Regions from separate parts of the Homo sapiens genome. Here region 1 is linked to region 2. The links are contacts of gene promoters, found by promoter capture Hi-C in blood cells and fetal thymus (Javierre and others, 2016). All regions are on one chromosome and are shown on one strand. Each heading gives the region's core, a stretch centred on a gene start or on the middle of the fragment in contact. The rest is flanking DNA. Distances are from core to core; before and after follow the strand shown.

Region 1 (4,077 bases), core at 492-2,991, 940 kb before region 2:
TTGCATGCATTATCTCATTTAACCCTTATAATAATCCCAGAATGTAGATGTGATTATTTCCATTTCACAGATGCTGAAACTGAGGTGTAGAAAGGTTCTGAAACAGGCCCAAGGTCACACAGCTATGTGAGGCAGAGCCAGAGTTAGAACTCAGTGGTGGAGGCTGGGCTCGGTGGCTCACGCCTGCAATCCCAGCACTGTGGGAGGCTGAGGCGGGCAGATTGCCTGAGGTCAGGAGTTTGAGACCAGCCTGGCCAACATGGTGAAAGGCTGTCTCTACTAAAAATACAAAAATTAGCTGGGCGTGGTGGCGCCTCTGATCCCAGCTACTCAGGAGGCTGAGGCAGGAGAATCGCTTGAACCTGGGAAGGGGAGATTGCAGTGAGCTGAGATGGCACCATTGCACTCCAGCCTAAGCGACAGGGGGAGACTCCATCTCAAAACAAAAAACAAAAAACAAACAAACAACAACAAAAAAACCTCAGTGGTGGATCTGACCCTAAAACCCATACTCTTACCAGCAAGCTTTTCTGCCTCTCATCCTGCAAACGCTGCCGTTCTCCTTACTCTGAATGTGTGTGAGTGTGGTAGGCAGAATAATGGACCTCCAAATATGTCCCCATCCCAGTCCCTGGAAATGACAAAGAGGAATTAAGGTTGCAGATGGAATTAAGGTTGCTAATCATCTGACCTTCAGAAAGGGAGATTATCCTGGATGATCTGGGTGGGCTCAATGTAATCACAAGGGTCGTTATAAATAGAAGAGAGAGGATCAGAGAGACCTTTGAACTGCTATGCTGCTGGCCTTGAAGATAGAGGAAGGGGCCATGAGCCAAAGAATGCACACAGCCTTCAGAAGCTGGAAAAGGCAAGGACACAAATTCTCCCCTAGAGCTTTCAGAAGGAACGCAGGCTTGCTGACACTGTGATTTTAGCCTCGTAGTCTCATTTTGGAGTTCTGACCTCCAGAACTCTAAGATGACAAATTTGAGTCACGAAGTTTGTGGTAGTTGGTTACAAATAGCAACAGGAAACCAATACGAGTATTCCTAAATGTGTGCTTTATGTGTATGCACAACATGTCCTTTTGTTTTGAGACAGAGTCTCACTCTGTCGCCCAGGCTGGAGTGCAGTGGCGCGATCTCAGCTCACTACAGCTTCCGCCTCCCGGGTTCAAGTGATTCTCCTGCCTCAGCCTCTGGAGTAGCTGGGATCACAGGCACGTGCCACTAAGCCTGGCTAACTTTTGTATTTTTAGTAGAGACGGGGGTTTCACCACACTGGTCAGGCTGGTCTCGAACTCCTGACCTCAGGTGATCAGCCTGCCTTGGCCTTCCAAAGGACTGGGATTACAGGCGTGAGCCACTGTGCCCGGCCCAACATGACTTTCTAAGTGTATACCTCTCCATAAAAGTCTACATGTCTTGGGTAAGGGGAGCCCTTTTGGTGGCGAAATAGGGGTGAAGAAGCCAGCAGATTCCTAGGACGGCTGCAAGCTTCAGCTATTCCTTTATTAGTTGGCCACAACACATACAGCACTGTAATTGAACTCAGCAAGCATGATATGCCTGAGACCCACAGGTAAGTATCTATGTGAGTGAGTGGTATAGCCATCCGTGTTCAGGTACTCACACACGTGTGTGAATATTCATACGTGCACCTGTGTGAGTGAACATGTCATCTTTGCTCGTGTGTGTGTAGACAGATGTGTCTATGTATGTGTATGACTATGTGCAGGCATGTGTGTACATGGGTGCGCATGCATAAGGCACTTGAGAACACATATGTACACCTCTGTGTGTTATGTGTGTTGTGTGCACATGCGTGCACCCTGGATTCACTTGGGCATTTTGGGCCTGAGATTAGAACCCTCCTAACCCATTTATCTGGCACCTTCCTGAGCCAGGCCCTGGGTAGAGACGTAGCACAGGAGCCCTTGACAGGAATCATTAATTTGCTCTTTTCTCCCTGGGGCTGGAGTAAAATGAAGCTTGTTTTCCATTTCTACACAATGAGAAGAAGTGTATCGATTTTTCCTCACTTCTGATTGTTCACATTAGGGGCTTGTTTCTAAATAATTGACACTACGATCATTCGTTTTACTGCACAAACATATTTTACGGGTCACTTTTCCCTTTGAGCCATAGTCCTGGGTGGACCTGAAACAAGTCCATTTTGTAGACTGGTGTTTCTCTGCATGGAGAACATCCCTCAAAGAGCAGGTTCAGCTGCTCTGGTGGCCCCCTTGCAATTGTATTTGTTCACACATTAATTTGTCCAAAAGATTGCACTGAGCGCCAGTGCTGTGTGGACAGAATCTAGGCAGTGGGTGTGGGCTGGGGTAGAGGAGCACTAGTGGGTCCTTGCTTGCTGAAGCAATCAGTCGGGCCTGAAGTGCTAGCCTCAGACGGAAGTGCTTCCTTCCATCCACCTTAGGAAGCAGTAAGGAAATTCACGGGCTCAAGGAAAAGCAGGAGGAAGAGGGAGGGACAGAGTCAAAGCCCCCAGCTGTCAAGGTCCCCTCTCCTAGCTTTGCTCATGTCACACTGACTTTTCAAAGGATGCTGCCCAATCATCCATAACCAATCATCCTTATGCTTGAAAAATAGCTTAGCCCCCCTCAGGCTTCTCTGAGTCCCCAAACTGGAAGGACACCTCCCTCCTCAGTCCATCTCCCCCAGGGTCAGCATCTGAACCTCGTTCCTTACGTTCTGATTTGGGTTTCAACGTGAGTTCCTTGGGATGTAATTTCTTTGAGGTCAGAAGCCACCCCTTCCTCACCGTCTCTCCAGCTTCCGCAGGGGAGTTTCCAGTGCTGCTACCCATACAGTTGGATCACCCTCATTCCCTGGACTTGTGAAATCCCGAGAGAAGGAGCTGGGATGGAAAGTGGTGACCACCACTCCCAGCCCTGCTCTCTGTTTTTCTGGACTTCTAGTACTGACCCTCCACGCCCACCCTTGGGTTGATGTGGTCTCTCTAAGGTCTTCTCAGTGTGACTCTAGGCTAATTTTCCTTTTTTGAAAGTGGTGCTGAGAACAGTAATTTCTTTTCTTGTATGGGTGACCCCTTCATGGACAGTTCAGATTTCCAAGCTTTGGTGCCACATCCTGCAACCCAGTGAGGAGGAGAAGGGAAGGTCCGGGCTGAAAGGCTTACAGCTTCCCACTGCCCCTGCAGGGTAGGCTCCAGTCTGGCTGCCTGTGAGCCCCTGAGCAACTGGGTCAACCTTGTCTGCTCAGGGGAGGGTTGCTCCTGATTCTTGCAGGAGGCCTCAGCTGGTGCAACAGCAGTGGCAGGTTTTGGGGGGCATCTCCTATCTCTTCATATGGCCCCAGAGAGAGAGAGACAGAGACTCATGGGACTTTCTTATACAGGCTGAAGCCAGGAATGCTAGTTGCCTCCCTAATATCCATTCTCTTCTTTGTTCTTCATAACAGAGCCCCAATTCTATTTCGTGTGGCAATGGGTCTAACTAAAGGACCAAGTGTTCCAGCCTCTCTTCAGCTAGAGGTGACCAACAGGTTGGGAGCAGAAGTGGTTGGGTAGAGCTTCTGAGAAAGTGCTTTAACAAAGGGCAGGCAATGGTATGTGACTTCTGCCCCCTCTTTTCTCTCCTGTTTTTTTTTTTAAATTTTGATTTTAATTATTTTATTCTATTTTTTGAGACAGAGTCTCACTCTGTCACCCAGGCTGGATTGCAGTAGCATGATCTCTGCTCACTGCAAGCTCTGCCTCCCGGGTTGAAGCAATTCTCCTGCCTCAGCCTCCCAAGTAGCTGGGACTACAGGCACCCGCCGCCATGCCCGTCTAATTTTTTGTATTTTTAGTAGAGACAGGGTTTCACCATGTTAGCCAGGATGGTCTCAACCTCCTGACCTTGTGATCCGCCCACCTCGGCCTCCCAAAGTGTTGGGATTATAGGTGTGAGCCACCGCGCCCGGCCTTTTCTCTCCTGTTAGCTTTCTGCCTAGAACACAGACATAATGACTGGAGCCCCAAAAGTCATCAGGAAGTGACCTTGAGGATGAAAGCCGTGTTCTAAGGGTGATAGAACATAAAGATGGAAGATCCTGG
Region 2 (3,979 bases), core at 1,464-3,963:
GTTCTCCTTGGGCCTCAGTTTCCCCAGCTGTGAAGAAAGAGATGGGTTCCTGATCTCCAAGGGCTCCCTCTGTTCTGAAGCTCACCAATCTATTCTTCACAGATGTTGCCAATGAGGAATATGTGATTCTCATACACACATTACTGTGTGTTGTTTTTGATTCAGTAGGCTTATGAGCATCAAGAAGAGAAGGGAGACCAGGCGCAGTGCCTCACACCTGTAATCCCATCACTTTGGGAGGCTGAGGCAGGCAGATCATTTGAGGTCAGGAGTTCAAAACCAGCCTGGCCAACATGATGAAACCTTCGTCTCTACTAAAAATACAAAAATTAGCTGGATGTGGTGGTATGTATCTGTAGTCCCAGTTACTTGGGAGGCTGAGGCAGGAGAATCGCCTCAGCCCAGGAGGCGGAGGTTGCAGTGAGCCGAGATCAAGCCATGCCCTCCAGCCTGGGAGACAGACCGAGACTCCATCTCAAAAAAAAAAAAAAAAAAAAAGGAGAGAAGGGACATTTACAAAATGCAGAGGAGCCTGGGAGAGCTGAGCTGAGAAGGGAGAGGTAACCAGACTCCTTGGGATGACTGCTGAGTGTGGGGGGCAGGAGCCCAGGCACTGGATCTACAGACACGGGGAATCTGTGTTGCCTCGAGGGAAAGGGCCAAGCGTGAAATTGCAGCAGAAAAAAACCAAAATGTTAGAACAGCACAAGGCATTGATGCTCAGAGCAGGGCAGTTTTTCCACCTGTCACTGGAACAAATTCCCACAGACTCTCAGCCCAGGGACCAAAGGACCCACAGGCTAAGGCAGAGGGACTGAGACTGGCACCCCCATTTGGTAAGGGGGTGACCTATCAGGGCAGTGACAGAGAGAGTCCTTCGAGTCCAATAGACCTGGCTGTGAGTCCAGGCTCTGCCCAGACCCTCTAAGCCACCTTGAGGCTGCTATTTCTCTGAGTATCTGTTTCTAGATGTTTTAAAAGTGGGAGAGTCGCATTTCCTCCCTCCCAGGATCACGGTACAGTAAAGAGCTTAGCACTCTGCCTAATACATAGAACAAGCAGCAAATGTTCACTGCCGTTGCGATGACAGTGCCCTGGCAGGTGACCTGTGCTCAAGGCGTCCCAGTGCACACACACACTCACACACACACAGGGTAGGGCAGCAGATGGGACACACGCCCTGCCACAGGCCATTTTAAGGAGTCGGGGTGGGTGAGGACCCAGGCACGGTGGAGGAAAGAGGGAGGCAAGAAGCCTTTTTCAGCTTCCTTGGTGTCATCTCACAGTGCCTCCCTCAGGAGGGGAAAAGGGAGGGGAGTGAGAAGGCTGTTTAGCTGTGTTCCATACTGGCTGTGCCTCACACAACCGGCCCCACCCCGACAGGACTCCTTGGGGACAGAACGGGAGTGCATTCTCAGGCACCTAAATCTTACAGGCTCAGTGCCTGCACAGGGAGACGGGTCCGCAGCCCAGGGTCCCGGGCAGCTTTCGGGCTTGGGGGTGGATTGACACACAGCCCGATGGTATTCACACCCATTCCTTCACTGTCGCGCCCGGTCCTGGGGGACGGCATGGCACCAGCCAACGTCACGGGTTGGGTGTGAGTTCATGGTAGATTCTCACACGCCAGCCTCACAAGAGGCACTGCCGAGACCAGGCTTGCTGCCGCCTACTGTATGGCCGGCCCTGTGGGCACAGCTGTCCTCCACCCGCCTCCCAAGGCACCATCGGGCCCAGAATGTGCCCGATGAGTCACGGGCCTGGGTCTCCCCAGCATGGGCGCAGCAGGGGGGCTGAGTCCGCCTGAGCCCCGGTGCCCAGCTCAGGGTCTGGCACAGAGCAGATGCTAGTGAATGAACGTCGGGCTGGATGAATGAACGAATGACTAATGCCCGCTCCCTCAAACCACAGGCTACACCGTCTGAGCCTGGGGGAGGGCAGAGCCCACGGGACCCCAGAAGAGGCCTCCGCAGCTGAGGCTTTGCGTCCCAGGGTCGATGGGGGAGGGGGCGGGGCGGCCAGCAGCCGGCGCGGCACGGGGCTCCCCTCCTTCCCGAGAAGGAATCTGGGTCTCTGGACTGAGCTGGTGACGGGGGCTGGGGCGGGGGGTTGTGGCGTCCTGGATGGAGAGAGCTGCAGGAGCAGGGGGCGCGTCCCGGTTTGCGTTGGGGTGTGGGACGAAGCGGCGGCCGCGGGACATCCCCTTCGGTGGCGAAGCCCGGGTCTGCCCGGGGCCTCCGCGGGGTGCAGAGGGCTCCCAACGGCGGGACTGGCCCGGGGCGCCGCAGACCTGGCCCTTTCCGGCGGGGCCGTGGAGAAGGGGACGCGGTGTCCCCCGAGGTGACCGGGGGCGCAGGAAGGACGGGGGGCGCGCGGAGCCCCCTCTCCACGCGCGGGAGGTCCAGCCCCGCTACCGCCCCCTACGCCCTCCCGGGACCTCCGCCCACCTGCGCGAGGGGTTCACCTGGGCCGGCGGCCCCTCCTCTAGACGCGCGAGTCCCTCCCCCGGGCCCCGGCCCTGCCCTCCCCGCGCCCGCCCTCACCTGCACGGCCCGCCTTGGCCATGTCCCGGGCGGCGGGCTCCGGCGGCGCTACGCGCGCTCCTCGCGCTTCCCGGGCCCGGCCCCGACCGCCTCCGGCCCCGAACGGACTCCGAGCGCCGCGCCCGCGCCCCCGCCCCGCTCGCCTCGGCTGCCGCCACCGCAGCCGCCGCCGCCTCGCCGCTCCCTCCCGCTCCCTTAAAGGCGCCGAGCGGCGGCCGCGCCCCCCCCCCACCCCACCCCCCGCGCCGCCGGGGAGGGACTGACGAAGGAAGGCGCCCAACGCCGCCCCCGCGGGCCCGCACCCCCGCCCCGGGCCGTGGCCGCCGCGCTCCAGCCCGCTCCGCTCCGGCCCGCGCGGCCACCGCAGCGCGCGAGGGGCGGCAGCCCAGGGGCTCAGAGACGCGGAGACAGCCCGAGACACTGCGGGCCAGAGACGGGGCCCTGGACTGGGAGAGGGGCGCACAGACTATTAGACAGCGCTGGAGAGAGACGCTCCTAGGGCCAGAACGCCGAGGTGGAGGGAGAGAGAGAGAAATTCAGAGGAGACCAGAGACCCAGAGCCCGGCTCCGGCTCCGGGAGAGACGGACAGAGGGAGCGGAGAGAGGAAGGAGGACAGGGATCCAAGGGAGGCCCCCACGAAGTCAAGAGGAAAGTCGCTCTGGGATCAGAGACAAGAGAGGGACCCCCTCCATCAGCCCCCGCTCCAGGGGTTCTGGATCATTTATGGCGTCTGACCTAACCTCAAAAGAGAAAGGATTCCCGTGATTTTAACCCTCAAGGGATAAGTAAAACACTTGCACATCCACCTGGGGTTCTAGGCTGGAGCAGGCTTTGTGGACCCCAGCGGCCTGGTGGTGAGCAGTACCCGCCTTCCACTTCCTAAATCGGGATGCAGAGATTCTAGTGGACAGGCCTTGTGGTCCGGGGAGATATGGGTTATGACTTCTGTTTAGGGGCAGCAGGGATCCACAGTCCAGCCCCAAAAGAGAGCAGGAGATGGCCAATTGTATTTGGCGGTGCCTGAGAGGTAACAACCCTCCACTGAGAGGGTGCCCTGCCTCCCCCAGGAATTGGTAAGGCTGAAGCCCAGTTACCATCTGTAGAGCCAGGCACCCAACCCACCCTGTCCCACTCCACTTAACAGGGAAAAGGTCAACTGGAGAATTCCATCCATGGTCCAGGCTCCAGGGTCCTGCAAGCTCCTCTATGGAAACAGGGCACACATGGGGTTAGATGGGGGCTCTCAGTCCAGTGCCTTCTCTGGGGCTTTGACTCCATTCACAAGATTCCTGCTAAGCAGTCCTCCAGCTCCTGGTTGGTTACCTCCAAGGACAGGAAGCTCAGTATCTTAAGTGAGAGTTCTTCCTTTTATTAATTTTTTTTTTTTTTTTTTGGCTAGTGCTGGCCTTAAGAATGTTCTTACTCGTTTGAGCTG

Evidence for each region. The method cuts DNA at HindIII sites, captures the fragments that hold promoters and counts their contacts. A CHiCAGO score of 5 or more calls a contact.
Region 1: a fragment that was not itself captured here is called in contact with the fragment with the promoter of PITPNM3 in region 2 in 2 of 17 cell types (M1 macrophages and total B cells); the score reaches 6.3 in M1 macrophages.

The regions. Positions count from the first base shown.
Region 1 is chr17:5,611,403-5,615,479 of GRCh38, forward strand. No RefSeq gene overlaps it. Among named protein-coding and RNA genes, the nearest start is that of NLRP1, 29 kb to the left of the region's middle. The HindIII fragment of the contact is 494 bases long and covers 1,495-1,988 here.
Region 2 is chr17:6,553,842-6,557,820 of GRCh38, forward strand. PITPNM3 (PITPNM family member 3) reads right to left here and starts at 2,714. Exons shown (of 20, transcript NM_031220.4): 1 at 2,544-2,714. The coding sequence starts at 2,565. RefSeq lists an enhancer at 979-1,625. The HindIII fragment of the contact is 11,474 bases long and covers 1-3,979 here.